5 separate regions of the Homo sapiens genome follow, and regions 2, 3, 4 and 5 are each linked to region 1. Evidence: promoter capture Hi-C in 16 types of primary human blood cells and fetal thymus (Javierre and others, 2016). All regions are on one chromosome and are shown on one strand. The core of a region is centred on a gene start or on the middle of the fragment in contact, and the rest is flanking DNA. Distances in the headings are between cores, read along the strand shown. Region 1 holds the start of LMAN2 (lectin, mannose binding 2). Region 2 overlaps RMND5B (required for meiotic nuclear division 5 homolog B). Region 3 has its middle 2.8 kb from the start of RMND5B. Region 4 has its middle 10 kb from the start of N4BP3. Region 5 has its middle 32 kb from the start of N4BP3.

What was found. The method cuts DNA at HindIII sites, captures the fragments that hold promoters and counts their contacts. A CHiCAGO score of 5 or more calls a contact.
Region 2: a contact is called between a fragment that was not itself captured here and the fragment with the promoter of LMAN2 in region 1, in 2 of 17 cell types (naive B cells and total B cells). The highest score is 7.8, in naive B cells.
Region 3: a contact is called between a fragment that was not itself captured here and the fragment with the promoter of LMAN2 in region 1, in 1 of 17 cell types (total B cells). The highest score is 5.5, in total B cells.
Region 4: a contact is called between a fragment that was not itself captured here and the fragment with the promoter of LMAN2 in region 1, in 1 of 17 cell types (total B cells). The highest score is 5.4, in total B cells.
Region 5: a contact is called between a fragment that was not itself captured here and the fragment with the promoter of LMAN2 in region 1, in 1 of 17 cell types (total B cells). The highest score is 7.4, in total B cells.

The regions. Positions count from the first base shown.
Region 1 is chr5:177,350,255-177,353,121 of GRCh38, reverse strand. LMAN2 (lectin, mannose binding 2) reads left to right here and starts at 1,454. Exons shown (of 8, transcript NM_006816.3): 1 at 1,454-1,670; 2 at 1,831-1,949. The coding sequence starts at 1,475. RefSeq lists enhancers at 1,264-1,313, 1,324-1,513 and a silencer at 1,155-1,369. The HindIII fragment of the contact is 10,936 bases long and covers 1-2,867 here.
Region 2 is chr5:178,148,803-178,151,669 of GRCh38, reverse strand. RMND5B (required for meiotic nuclear division 5 homolog B) reads right to left here. Exons shown (of 11, transcript NM_022762.5): 11 at 1,102-2,867. NHP2 (NHP2 ribonucleoprotein) reads left to right here. Exons shown (of 4, transcript NM_017838.4): 3 at 677-782; 4 at 1,832-2,207. The coding sequence ends at 1,957. Among named protein-coding and RNA genes, the nearest start is that of NHP2, 3.6 kb to the left of the region's middle. RefSeq lists an enhancer at 217-718. The HindIII fragment of the contact is 2,325 bases long and covers 220-2,544 here.
Region 3 is chr5:178,126,752-178,129,618 of GRCh38, reverse strand. It overlaps a transcript of N4BP3 not described here. Among named protein-coding and RNA genes, the nearest start is that of RMND5B, 2.8 kb to the left of the region's middle. RefSeq lists enhancers at 1-83, 1,097-1,757, 2,420-2,867. The HindIII fragment of the contact is 2,238 bases long and covers 305-2,542 here.
Region 4 is chr5:178,101,798-178,104,664 of GRCh38, reverse strand. No RefSeq gene overlaps it. Among named protein-coding and RNA genes, the nearest start is that of N4BP3, 10 kb to the left of the region's middle. The HindIII fragment of the contact is 5,559 bases long and covers 1-2,867 here.
Region 5 is chr5:178,079,729-178,082,595 of GRCh38, reverse strand. No RefSeq gene overlaps it. Among named protein-coding and RNA genes, the nearest start is that of N4BP3, 32 kb to the left of the region's middle. RefSeq lists a cis regulatory region at 247-919. The HindIII fragment of the contact is 6,225 bases long and covers 1-2,867 here.

The DNA.
Region 1 (2,867 bases), core at 205-2,704:
GCAACCTCTGCCTCCTGGGTTCAAGCAATTCTCCTGCCTCAGCCTCCCGAGTAGCTGGGACTACAGGTGTCCGCCACCACGCCGTTAATTTCTTTTGTATTTTAGTAGAGACGGGGTTTCACCGTGTTGCCCAGGCTGGTCTGAAACTCCTGAGCTCAGGTAATCTGCTCGCCTCTGCCTCCCAAAGTGCTAGGATTACAGGCCTCAGCCACTGAGCTCAGCCGGAAGTCTGGATTTCTGATGTGAATGTACATATTCCGACTTTGTGTGTGTGTGTGTGTGTGTGTGTGTGTGTGTGTGTGTGTGTGACAGAGTCTCGCTCTGTCGCCCAGGCTGGAGTGCAGTGACGCGATTTCGGCTCACTGCAAGCTCTGCCTCCTGGGTTCAAGCCATTCTCCTGGCTCAGCCTCCCGAGTAGCTGGGACTACAGACACCTGCCACCACGCCCGGCTAATTTTTTGTATTTTTTAGTAGAGACGGGGTTTCACCGTGCTAGCCAGGATGGTCTCGATCTCCCGATCTCGTGATCCGCCGGCCTCAGCCTCCCAAAGTGCTGGGATTACAGGCGTGAGCCACCACGCCCAGCCTCTATATTCTGACTTTAAAATACTGGTAGTTAAGCCATTTATTAGAATATTGGCAGGTAAAACAGAGCTCTATTCAGCTGCAGGCCACCAGTTTTCGACCTCTGATTCACAGCTTTCCTGGGCCTTCCATGGACGTTACTTGCTGTACCAGGCACTGCGCTCTTTTGCATAGGGATGAGTTCCAGTCATCACTGGGGTCCCAGGCCAGGATCTGTGTCTGTTCCTCTTGCTTCAACCCGACTAGGCCTGAGGAGTTGAGGGTAGTGGAGGCCCTCAAATAATTGGGAATTCTGAGTCTCCAAAGGCGCGAAGCTGGGGCGCCTGACGGCAGGCACGGCTTAAAGGCTTGCCCAGGGCCACCCGGGGAGGACAAGGGTTGGAATGCAGGACTCCGCCTTCAATTCAGAGCTCCTTTCTCCAGGACTAGAAAAGGTTATTCCAGAGACGGGACTTGCGGCCAGAAGCCCAAGACGTCCTAGTCTTCGCGAATCCGCCCCATTAGAGCGACCGACAAAAACTACAAATTCCAGCATGCCCCGAGTCGCGGACGGCCCTCGCGCTCCCGCCGGCTCCAACCATCCCTCTGCTCCTCATTGGCTCGCAAGCCTAACGTGCTGTTCCGTGACTGGTTACAGCTCTTGTCGCTCGAAAGAACCCATTGCTGGGGCTGGCCGGCGTGTGCCTTGGAGCCTCTAAGGAGATGAAACTGCACTCAACCAGGATGAGAGGCTGCCCGGCCAATGCAGCTGCCGCCCCGTCTGCTGCGGAGGCTTTGCTTTTTGACTCCCTGGCGACAGTAAAGTTGAAGAGCTTCCGGCCGGAGGCCAATAGATGGGACCCCCGGAAGGCGGAAGTTCTAGGGCGGAAGTGGCCGAGAGGAGAGGAGAATGGCGGCGGAAGGCTGGATTTGGCGTTGGGGCTGGGGCCGGCGGTGCCTGGGAAGGCCTGGGCTTCTCGGCCCCGGCCCTGGCCCCACTACACCTCTCTTTCTTCTTTTGTTGTTGGGGTCTGTGACTGCGGATATAACTGACGGCAACAGTGAACATCTCAAGCGGGAGCATTCGCTCATTAAGCCCTACCAAGGTGAAGCCCTTGGGGCGGGAATGAGTGAAGAGTGAGGGCGAGGCTGAACAGGGCTAGGGGAAGGCGTGCCCTTTCTCCTGAGCAGAGCATCTCTGTGGGTTTCCTGCCTCTGGTGAGGCCAGTCCTGGCGTGGCCTCTTAGCACCTGTCTCTTCCCACAGGGGTCGGTTCCAGCTCTATGCCCCTCTGGGACTTCCAGGGCAGCACTATGCTCACGAGCCAGTACGTACGTCTGACCCCTGACGAGCGCAGCAAAGAGGGCTCTATCTGGAACCACCAGGTGAGTGGTTCTCAAGAGGATAGGCGTACTGTGCGGTTGGCTGCTAGTCCCTGCCTCCCGAGCAGCTGAGACCCCAGCTTCGTTTATAGGTTTGCACCTCCGTCCCTGGCCTTTTCCTCATCTCGGTCACACCCACCAATAATAAGAGGCGATGGGTATTGGGTACTTACTATGTGTCAGGAGCTGCGCTTGACACTTTACATCCTCCTCACTTTAAAAGCCATGCGAGATGAGTAATGTTATCTCCATTTTACCCACTGAGAAGCTAAGACTCAGGTTTGAAAGGGCCTTACCCAAAGTTACATAGCCAGAAAGTAGTGGAACTGTCAGGCTGTCTGCCTTGAACCCCCTCAGTAATGGGAAGAACCGAGCGAACTGGATCTTTATTGGGTGTTTTGCTGTGTATTAGGCACTGACCTTGCCATGCCTTATTGCATTTAATTTTCAAACAAGCTGTTTGAAATAGATGGCTTTCATGACTATACAAAGATAACCCAGCTAGCAAATGTCATAAACAGTATTTAAACTCTGATTTGTCTGATCTCTAAGCCCAGCAGTTCACTCGATGTACTTGACTCTTTTCACCTGGACAGTGGAGGAACCCCTTAGAACCCTTTTTGCAATGCTTGGTTGAGGGTCTTGTCATCAGTAGTGTGGAGGGACTGGACCTGTGGGCAGTTCTAGTGTCTGTGACCTTTGCCTCAGAGTATGTAGTATGTAGTATGTGAGCAGTGGCCAATGACAGCTGCTACACAGAATCCACACTGAGGCAGTCAAGGTGAGGAAAAAGGGGAAAGAAGAATAATTTGGGGCTGGGTTACAGCTTGGAGCGGGACCTGCTCCTGCCCCAGCTTGCCTAATCTCAGCCCTTCCCATGGCTTAAGCTGTTGGCCAGTGTTCTAGTTTTCTCCATCACCC
Region 2 (2,867 bases), core at 133-2,632, 800 kb before region 1:
GTGAAAGGCGCTTAACAGAAGGGGAGCCAGCAGAGGGCCCAGAGGAGCACTAGGAGTGCGGAAGCATTCTTTCAGCCGAGGGCTCTGTCCTTGTGTGTCCGCCTGTTATCCAGCATGGGAGAGCAGACTTTTCCTTCTGTGTCTTAGGCTCCTGAGGCCCTTGCCCCCCAGCCTTGACACCTGGCCAGCTAGGAACCCTGGCTGAGTCTCTGGCAAGCTTTCATTGCCTCACTGTCACTCTTGGGACAGAGCCCATGCTTCTTAGCCTGGTACTCAAGGTCTTGGGGGTGTCCCCTGCCAGTCTCTCGGCTGTGTCTGGTGCCGTTCTGATTCTCACACCACATGCTCTCCCCCGCCCCAGCCCCTCCGTGGGCTGCCTGCCACACAGTCATCCATCAGCGTGCTGTTCAAGTGTCACCTCCTGGTTGAACCCTTTTTTGACTCTCCAAAGAGAGCTGAGCTCATACACCTTGGCACCCATCCTGTACTTCACCTGTCCGAGCACTACATCACTTTGGTGGCACCTGTATGTTGCCAAGAGGTAGAGATCACCCCCAAATAGTGTGCTCACCAAACACAATTTTGTCTCTATCCCTAAGACCCAGCCCAGGGCAGCACTTAAAACTGAAAGAAGGAAGGAGCAAGCCAGAGATGACAGTGTTTTCTCTCATTTCAGGATCATGGTTTTGGCAGGAGACACACTGCCCATTGAGGTATACTGCCATCTCCCAGTCATGTGTGAGGACCGAAATTTGCCCTATGTCTATATCCCCTCTAAGACGGTAAGGAGCACGTGGCCCCCTGACCTTGCTCAGCACTGGGGTGTCTGGGATAGTCTGCCATAGCAGGAGAGTGTGGGAAAGAGCCAGGAGTGTTGGAGCTAAGACAGGCCTGGATGGATTCTCAGCTCCACATCTTCTTAGTTTTGGGACTACAGATATGTTACTTCTTGCATTTCAGTTCCCATCTTGTAAAGTGGGAATCCCAGCCCAGGCGCTGTGGCTCACACCTGTAATCCTAGTGCTTTGGGAGGCCAAGACAGGAGGATCAGTTGAGGACAGGAGTTCAGGAATAACCTGCGCAACAAAGTGAGACTCCATCTCTACAAAAAAAATTTTTTTAATTAGCTGGGTGTGGTGGCACATGCCTGTAGTCCCAGCCACTTGGGAGGCTAAAGCAGGAGATCACTTGAACCCAGGAGTTCAAGGCTGCAGTGAGCCATGATCATACACCACCACACTCCAGACTGCATGACAGAGTGAGGCCCTGTCTCAAAAAAAAAAAATAGAGGCTGGGGGTGGATCTTGGGTACCTACAGTATCACTTCTTGGGATAAAGCAGGAGGCCCTGTTCTGAAGGAACTTACCGTTTGGCCTGATGGTAAGAACCAAATAGTCAGTTATCTGTGGACTATGAGAATAAAGAGATAGATGTATGTGAAAGAGCTTTGTAAGCTAAGATGCTTCACCCATGTTAGTCCGGTTAGGTGGGTTTAGGCTCAGAGGGACCTGTAGCTGTCCTTATCTTACGTAACAGGGGCCAGATCTGAGGCACAGGAAGTGGGGGTGGCAGGGACCGGGACAGCCCCTGCTGGGCTGGAGCCCTTTCATAGTTGCCATGTGGGAATGTAGGCCCTGTGTGGCTGGACCATGCCTTCAAAGTCTGATTGAGTTTAAATGATGGCAACCAATTCAAGATGCTTTTAAATAGAACATGGACCGAACAGAACATGGTTGTGGGCCAGATTAGGCTGGTGGGTCATCAGTTGGTGACTTCCTGGCATACAGGTTGTACAGCTTTTTTCCAAACAGCACTTCTTTCCCCTCTGTAGGACCTGGGTGCAGCCGCAGGCTCCAAGCGCCCCACCTGTGTGATAATGGTCAAGCCCCATGAGGAGTACCAGGAGGCTTACGATGAGTGCCTGGAGGAGGTGCAGTCCCTGCCCCTACCCCTATGAGGGGCTCCGGTAGCACCTGGGCACCTGCCGCTGGAAGCTATTGGGCTGGCAGCAGGACGACTGGCTGTCCTCCTGCCCACCCACACTGACGGCATCTTCCCAGTTCCCCAAGGCACGCCTTCTTCCCAGGCAGCTCTAACAGCCCTTTCATGAAGGTAATGCTAGTCTTCTGTCCATCAGTGCCATTTCCTGTAGAACTAAAGGCTGTTCCAAGAATGTGGGGTGGGGAAAGTAAATGCTAAGACTAAAATGTGGTGAGTCTGTGGGTGTTTTCTTAAGCAGCAGCTGCTGGTTGGGCCAGCGAGTTGGTGGGCGGGAAGAGTGAAGCAGTCTTCCTCAGCAGAGAGCCCAAAGGACTCAGAGGGTTCTGTGCTGATGCTCAGCTGCCCAGGGCCGGGTGCTTTGGCTCAAGCTGAGAACTGATCCTGCTGCTATCCCAGCATTTTCAACTCCCTCTTCCAGGGTAGATGGGGGCTGTGAGGTAAGGCAGGGGGCCCAGACCCACTTCATGGAAGCCTAAAGCCCCCACATCAGGAACACCCCCATTCCTAACTTAACCCAGGAGCCTTAAATGCCACTGTGAAGCTTATGGAAGCAATTTACCCACCCACACAGCACATTTTAAATAGGAATATGAAGCTAAAATGCATTCCCCCGAGCTCTCTTGCTTAACATAATGGCCCTAGTAACCCAATCCCTTCAAGTATTTTAGACTTGGGGCCCCTTCCTGCTGTCAGAGGCCCTGCACAGGACTCAGTATACATAACAGCCAAGTTCAGGCACCCTGGAATAAACTGGAAATAGCTTGGGCTTGAGGGTCAGATCTGGTTAAAACTCCAAGCTCTCTCCTTTCTAAGCTGTGAGCCCTGTTGTGCAAGTTACTTCATTTTCCTGAATCCCATTACACGGA
Region 3 (2,867 bases), core at 174-2,673, 780 kb before region 1:
ACTTAATCTGCCCACTGGGTATTCAACAGAATTCAGTTCTGCGGAGGAGGGGGTCCAGCCCTACCCTGCCGCCCTGTGTTGGTCGCTGTCCTGGGGAACGGGGGAAGGGGAGAAGATGGGAGCTGCCCATCTGCCCTAAGGAGGAAGGGTGAGGGTTAGGAAGGAGGAGGGAACAGGCACTGACCCCAAACCCAGGTCCAGACTGAATTTTCTTTTTCTTTTTTTGAGATGAAGTCTTGCTCTGTTGCCCAGGCTGGAGTGCAGTGGTGTGATCTCGGTTCACTGCAACCTCCACCTCCAAGCTTCGAGCGATTGTCCTGCCTCAGCTCCATGAGTAACAGATTACAGACATGCTCCACCATGCCCGGCTAATTTTTGTATTTTTAGTAGAGAGGGGATTTTGCCATGTTGGCCAGGCTGGTCTCAAACTCCTGACCTCAGGTGATCCACCCACCACAGCCTCCCAAATTGCTGGGATTACAGGCATGAACCACCACACCCAGCCCCAGATTGAATTTTCTATCCCGGACCCTCTGCTCTGGAGGGAAAGAGTAGAGAAGTCCCCACTCCTCCTCAGGCCTCAGCTGGGACTAGGAACAGCCCTGGAGAAAAAGCCAGGTCTCTGTGTTGCCCACTTCTGCTCCCTTTTTGGTTGGGCCTCATTCCAGGCCATCCTCCCCTTGAATCCTCCATGCCTTCCCCTCCCTCCCCTTTGCACAACTTACTTTTTTTTTTTTTTTCAAAATAGAGAGGTGGTCTCCCTATGTTGCCCAAGCTGGTTGCGAACTCTTGGCCTCAAGAGATCCTCCCCTCTCAGCCTTTGGAAGTATTGGGATTACAGGAATGAGCCACCATTCCTTGCCCTGTTTTCTTTTTTTTTTTTTTTTTTGAGACGGAGTCTTGCTCTGTCGCCCAGGCTGGAGTACAATGGCATAATCTTGGCTCACTGCAACCTCCGCCTGCCAGGTTCAAGCAATTCTCCTGCTTCAGCCTCCTGAGTAGCTGGGACTACAGGTGCACACCACCATGCCTGGCTAATTTTTTGTATTGTTAGTAGAGACGGGGTTTCACCATGCTGGCCAGGCTGGTCTTGAACTCCTAACCTCGCGATCCGCCTGCTTCGGCCTCCCGAAGTGCTGGGACTACAGGCGTGAGCCACCGCACCCAGCCGACCTGTTTTCTTTATAGCACTTGGAAGTTATCTTGCGTGTTTATTTGTTCATTCTGTCTTCTGGCCCCCACTCCCATCACCCTCTTTGGGGCCAGACATGGTGGCTCACGCCTGTAATCCCAGCACTTTAGGAGGCTGAGGAGGGAGGAATGCTTGTGCCTAGGAGTTCTAGACCAGTCTGGACAACATAGGGAGACCCTGTCTGTACAAATAATACAAAAATTAGCCGGGTGTGGTGGTGCACATCTGTAGTCTCAGCTACTTGGGAGGCTGAGATGGGAGGCTGCCTAGGAGGTCGAGGCTGCAGTGAGCAGTGATCGCGCCACTACTCCAGCCTAGATAACAGAGTGTGAGAGACCCTGTCTCAAAAACAAACAAACATGGGCCAGGCGTGGTGGCTCATACCTGTAATCCCAGTACTTTGGGAGGCCAAGGCGGGTGGATCATTTGAGGTCAGGAATTCAAGACCAGCCTGGCCAACATGGTGAAACCCTGTCTCTACTGAAAATACAAAAAAAAAAAAAAATTAGCCAGGCATAGTGGCAGACACCTGTAATCCCAGCTACTTCGGAGGCCGAGGCAGGAGAATCGCTTGAGCCCGGGAGGCGGAGGTTGCGGTGAGCCAAGATTGCACCACTACACTCCAGCCTGGGCAACAGAGTGAGACCCTGTCTCAAAACAAAACAAAAACGAACAACAAAAAAAAAAATTCCACCAGGCCCATGTTTTGTCTTCATCACTGCCTTATCGCCAACACCATATGCTTTGCACACAGGAGGTACTCAGAGATACTCAAGAAGCCAGTGTCCTCCACGTATACATAAGGAAACTGCGGCTCAAAAACCTTATGATATATAGCAGGGGAGAAGGCCCACAGCAGGACTGTGTGCCTGCAGGGGCGTCAGGAGGGCGGATCCCAGAGATGCCTGCCCAAGCATGAGGAGCCTGGGTGGCCCTGGCCCAAACGGAAGCCATAGGGGTGGAGAGTTGATTGAACCTTGCCTTGGTGCCAAGGGGCCCAAGCCACCTTCCAGCCAACCTGACCTCACAGGCTTTGGCAAATGCCCCAGGCTTCCCCACTTCCTCTCCGGGAGCCTTGGCCTGCCTCACAGCCAAGAAGGATGTGAGCAAAGTTGAGGTTCTCCCCCAGTATGTGGCCATCCTTGCATCTTGGTATTATTTTCAAGTGTGCACCAAGTTGTATTAAATAGTTGACTTTGTCCATCTTTCCCCATAGGGATTGTTTTTGATTTTTGTTAGGGATGGGGAGGATTCCTTCAAAGCAATCAATTCTCCCATTAATTCAGTAATAATTGAATTAACTTTTTGCCAGCGTAGAAGTTTTAAACATTCCCTGTATTCTCCGAAGCTTCAATAATTTGAGTCTCTGGAATAAAATTGACAGTAGACAGATTAATAGGAGAAAAGGCATGCAAATTTATTACATACATGCACAGGAGTCCCACAAAATGTGAGACTCTAGTAAGGGCCAGACTGATGAAGTCTAAATAGCATTTGAGCTCCAAAAACTGGGGCCTGAGGTTTCTGGGAGGAGGTGGCAGCAGACGCTAGGAGGTTGAGGGGAGGAAATGCATGGCAAACAAAGGCTGTCTTGTCATGCAGATAAAACCTCTCAAGCAGCCCAGTCCTCAGAAGAGATGGTATCACCTTCAGTATCCTTTCCTGTGAGTTAATT
Region 4 (2,867 bases), core at 167-2,666, 750 kb before region 1:
ACCCACACACCCTCACCTGCCTGGCCCTGCCACACCCCCACCCCACCCTCCCTCTAAACCTACTGGGGCAGCAGCTTCCCCTACCTTCCGCCTGCTCCACCTCCTCCTAGAGCTGTCTTACACACAGTTTCCCATGCCCTTGGCAGGTTGGTCATGGCCCTGGCAGGTCTGAGGACAGGGTGGGCACAGGACTGTGTGCAGCATAGAAAAGTCAGGGAGTGCAGCCTCCTACTCTGTGCCAGCTGCCAGCCCCTGGAGCTTACCAGGTTGACGGGGACAAAGAATGCACCAGAGGGAACAGTGACCAGCCTGGGCAACAGAGCAAGACCCTGTCTCAAAAAGGAAAAAAAAAAATGGGGAGGAAGGCGATTGGGCAGAGGGCACCAGCAGAAGAGCTCTGGATCGAAGTGCCTGACAGAGGAGTCCCCCGTTAGAAAAGGTCCTGATACTAAGGGAGGAGACCACCCCTCATATTGTCTTATGCCCAATTTCTGCCTCCAAAGAAAGAAAAAGTAAAAACTAAAAGGCAGAAATGAAATCCACAAGCAGACAGCCCAGCACCACACCCTGGGCCTGGTAGTTAAAGATCGACCCCGACCTAATGGTTGATGTTATCTGTAGATTACAGACATCGTATAGAAAAGCACTGTGAAAATCCCTATCCTGCTTTGTTCCCGACTAATTACTGGCGCATGCAGCCCCCAGTCACGTACCTCCTAACCCTCTCACGCGCACCCCCTTAGAGTTGTGAGCTCTTAAAAGGGACAGGAATTGCCCACTCGGGGAGCTCGGCCCTTGAGACAGGAGTCTTGCCGATGCCCCTGGCCGAGTAAACCCCTTCCTTCTTTAACTCAGTGTCTGAGGAGTTTTGTCTGCGGCTCATCTTGCAACAATACCACTGCCTTGCTCAGTCACTGGCCACCAGGGAACAGGGTGGCCTCGATCTGAGAGCTGAGGGGACCCGGAAGGTGCTGACAGCTGGGCAGTGAGTGAGTCCTTTTGAAGGGGCATATCTCCTTCCCCACTCACTCCTGCTGGGCCAGGCTGGGTAGCGGGCGCCCTGGGTTGCAGACATTAAGCCTTTAGAATGGAAGCTGGTTGACGGCAGGACTGTGGCCACCTAGACTCTTTCACCCCCGGTCTGTCACAGGCCAGGACCCACAAGGCCCTCGGCATGCTTAAGTGAATGTGTGCAGGAGTGAGGGAATGAACTTCCTCGAAAGAATTCTGGTGTGGGGCGGGGCGCGGTGGCTCATGCCTGTAATCCCAGCACTGTGGGAGGCCGAGGGGGGCGTGGATCATGAGGTCAGGAGTTTGAGACCAGCCTGACCAACATAGTGAAACCCCGTCTCTACTAAAATTACAAAAATTGGCCGGGCGTGGTGGTGTGCTCCTGTAATCCCAGCTACTTGGGAGGCTGAGGCAGGAGAATGGCTTGAACCCGGGAGGCGGAGGTTGTGGTGAGCCGAGATCGCACCACTGCACTCCAGCCTGGATGACAGAGTGAGAGTCCATCTCAAAAAAAAAAAAACCACCAAGAATCCTGGCGTGGTGAGATTCTGGAACTTGGCCTCAGGGACCTGCATTCACATTCAGCCCTGGCCCTTCTTAATTTCTTTGACCTGCCCTAGGCCTTAATTTCTCTGTTGGTGAAATGAGAGTGATGATGCCTGTCAAGATATTTCATTTTCTTTTCTTTTTTTTTTTTTGAGACAGAGTCTCACTCTGTCACCCAGGCTGGAGTGCAGTGGCATGATCACGGCTCACTGCAACCTCTGCCTCCCGAGTTCAAGCGATTCTTGTGCCTCAGCCTCCCAAGTAACTGAGACTACAGGCATGCGCCACCACGCCCGGCTAATTGTTTTGCATTTTTAGTAAAGACAGGGTTTCACCATATTGGCCAGGCTGGTCTCGAACTCCTGACCTCAAGTGATCCACCGCCTTGGCCTCCCAAAGTGCTGGGATTACAGGCATGAGCCACCGCCCCCGGCTGGTCATGATACTTCAATGTAGTGGTGTAGAATCATGTGTCTGCCACGACCTTCCTTAGGTGGAGCAGAAAATGTCACCCCCACGTAAGAAAAGGAACAGGAAGAAAATATGCCAGGATATGTCTCTGGGTGATTTTTTTTTTTTTTTTTGAGACGGAGTTTTGCCCTTGTTGCCCAGGCTGGAGAGCAGTGTTGCAATCTCCAGCCACTGCAAGCTCCGCCTCCCGGGTTCACGCCATTCTCCTGTCTCAGCCTCCCTAGTAGCTGGGACTACAGGCACCCGCCACCACACCCAGCTAATTTTTTGCATTTTTAGTAGAGACGGGGTTTCACTGTGTTAGCCAGGATGGTCTCGATCTCCTGACCTCGTGATCTGCCCGCCTCGGCCTCCCAAAGTGCTGGGATTACAGGCGTGAGCCAGCCACCGCGCCTGCCTGGCTGATTTTTTTGTTTTAAGTTGTTTTTTTTTTTTTGAGACAGGGTCTCACTCTATCACCCAGGCTGGAGTGTAATGGTGTGGTCTCAGCTCACTGCAACCTCTGCTTTCCAGGTTCAAGCAATTCTCCTGCTTCAGCCTCCCAATGTAGCTGGGACTACAGGTGCACGCCACCACACCCAGCTAATTTTTGTATTTCTTTTTAATAGAGACGGGGTTTCACGATGTTGGCCAGGCTGGTCTCAAACTTCTGGTCTCGTGATCTGCCCCTCTTGGCCTCCCAAAGTGCCGGGATTACAGGCATGAGCCACTGCGCCCAGCCTGTTTTAAATTTTATTTTGAAATAGTTTTAAGATACAGAGAAAAGGCCGGGCGCGGTGGCTCACGCCTGTAGTCCCAGCACTTTGGGAGGCCGAGGCGGGCGGATCACGAAGTCAGGA
Region 5 (2,867 bases), core at 118-2,617, 730 kb before region 1:
ATAAAATTAGCTGGGTGTGGTGGCATGTGCCTGTAATCCCAGCTACTCGGGAGGCTGAGGCAGAGAATCACTTGAACCTGGGAGGCGGAGGCTGCAGTGAGCCAAGATCGCGCCACTGCACTCCAGCCTAGGTGACACAGTGAGACTCCATCTCAAAAAAAAAAAAAAAAAAGAAAAAAAAGCACAGTAAGGCAGACTTTATTCAGGACCATGGAGATAGACACAGGAACTGCTGGAGTGGGCTCTTGCAGTTGGGGAGAGAGACTGGGCTCAACTCCCAGTACAGCATGGGCGAGTGGGGGGTGATAGCCAAGGAGCAGGGTGGGGGCCAGGGGATGGGGAATTACTAAGAGCAACATCAGGGGTCGGGGATTCTAGCTAAACTCACCTAACACGATTCTAGCTGAAGACAGGCTAGGGTGACCAGACATCACCAGAGGGGTGATGGGGAGGAGAAGCCTGACCAGATATCAAGGGTGATCAGATATGGAGGGTGGGGGGTTTCTGCCACAGTGAGCTAGCAGGGTTCTTGCTAAAACTGGATTGTATAAGGAAGCACACAGATGGGTCTAGGAGAAGCCTCAGGGGCCCGACTAATATTGGGTCAAGCAGAGTCCTTGTCAGGAGCCTCCGGGTGACTTGTCTGTCTGCACACCTCAGGGGAGGAGAGGCCCCTGACCTGGGCTACCAGGCCAGACTGAGAATAAACTCCTCTACGGAGAAAACATTCAGCAACCTGTAACTTAAAAGAGGACTTTCCAGACTGCGAAAACAACCAAAGCAAGGTCACTGCGTCTGAAGGGGCGTGGCCCACCTGGAGCCCAAGGCAGCCTTCCCTTCTGGGAAGGCGGGGAGGGAGCTGAAAGGGAGCAGAGGCTGACCACAAACTGTCCTGGAGGCTACGCTCAAGACTTTTTTTTTTTTTTTCTGAGACTGAGTCTGGCTTTGTCACCAGGCTGGAGTGCAGTGCCGCAATCTCAGCACACTGCAACCTCCGACACCCTGGTTCAAGCAATTCTCCTGCCTCAGTCTCCGGAGTAGCTGGGACTACAGGCATGTGCCACCACACCCAGCTACTTTTCGTATGTTTAGTGGAGACGGGGTTTCACCATGTTGACCAGGATGGTCTCGATCTCCTGACCTCGTGATCTGACCACCTCAGCCTCCCAAAGTGCCGGGATTACAGGCGTGAGCCACCGCGCCCTGCCAAGACTTTTGTTGACTCCAGCATAATTGGAAAACCAGTTGAGTTTTTAAAGCACAGAGGTTACATAATAAGTCTGTATTTTGCTAGAATGTAAAACCCATCAGGGCAGGGATTTTGGTCTGTTTTATTTCCAGAACACCTGGTAATAACTGAATAAACAATTGTGTAATGTATGAGTGAGCGAATGAGTGAATGGGCTGCAGGAAGGTAGATCATGCTGGCCACAGTGCAGAGATTGACTTAAGTGGGCAGAGTCTGGGAAGGGAGGTCAGGAGGCTGGGATACCAGGAGAGAATGAAAAGGGCCAGTTGGTGCAGAGAGCAGCCGGGGACAGACTGGAGGGGACAAGTGGAGAGGTTTAGAGGTGACTTTACAGTGTACTTCATACTTCAAAAGTCTGGCACAGACTAGCCATTTGTGGACATTCTAGATCTGATCAAAAGCAGAACCACCTGGCCCTTGACTCCAGCAACACCATGGCTGGCCTGGAATTTCCTCCCCGGCAACGGTCGTTCTCACAGCATTTCTTCCCAGTTTACTTAGAGCTTTCGCAGACATTGCCTCATCAGATCCTTATCACAGCCCTGAGGATGGGGACTCATTAGCTCCATTTTACAGACTCAAAAACAGAGGCCAAGAAAGGTTATGTGACTTCCCTGGGGTAACACATGGGAAACATGGAATTCAGATCCAGGTCCACCAGTCTCTGCCTCCAGGGTCCTTTCTGCTTCCTCACTCAATTGGAGAGATGTGATTAGCAAATGTGAAAGAGAGCACCAGGCAGCGTGTGGATTCAGCATGAAATGGGATATTAAGAGTGATATTAATAATAATGCATGGCTCTGATGTTCATCAAGCACTGCTGTGTGCCAGCTTCTACTCCAAGCACTTGACCCGAGTCCCCTCATTCATTCCTCAGACACTCTTTGAGTTTGGTCTGTCATTCTCCCCATTTTACACGTAGTACTGGCCAAGCACGTGAGGGACACCACTGTGGGCTTAGCCACCAGGGAAGGCCTCAGAGAGGACGTAAGATGCGGGCAGGGGAGGAAGAAGGCACCTTGAGGCAGGCTTGGCTTGAGCGAAAGTGTGGAGGAGTGGGTGAGAAAGGAGGGGAGAAGCCAATGGGTGCATGAGACAAGGCCCTGGCCTGCGTGCTCTCCAGGAGGGGCCAGGCCTGGCATTGAGGTCTGGCCACAGTAAGTCCCTAGGGCAGGGGCTGACAACAGGGTGATGAGGGTGCCCTGGGCTTCGGTGAGGAAGAGGGGTGGGAGAGGGAGACAGCTGGCTGGTCAGGGCACTGCGGGTTGGTTTGGAAGTCCTGTGCTCAATCTGTCCTCCCACCCCAGCCTCCCAAGTAGCTGTGACCACAGGCAACGCGACCACACCCAGCAAATTTTATTTATTTATCTTTTTGAGACAGGGTCTCACTCTGGTTGCCCAGGCAGGTGTGCAGTGGTGTGATCTCTGCTCACTGCAGCCTCAACCTCCCTGGCTTAGGTGATTCTCCCACCTCAGCCTCCCAAGTAGCTGGGACTACAGACAAGTGCCACCACACCCGGCTAATTTTTGTATTTTTAATAGAGATGGGGTTTTGCCATGTTGCCCAGGCTGGTCTCAAGCTCCTGGACTCAAGCAATCCGCCTGCCTTGGCCTCCCA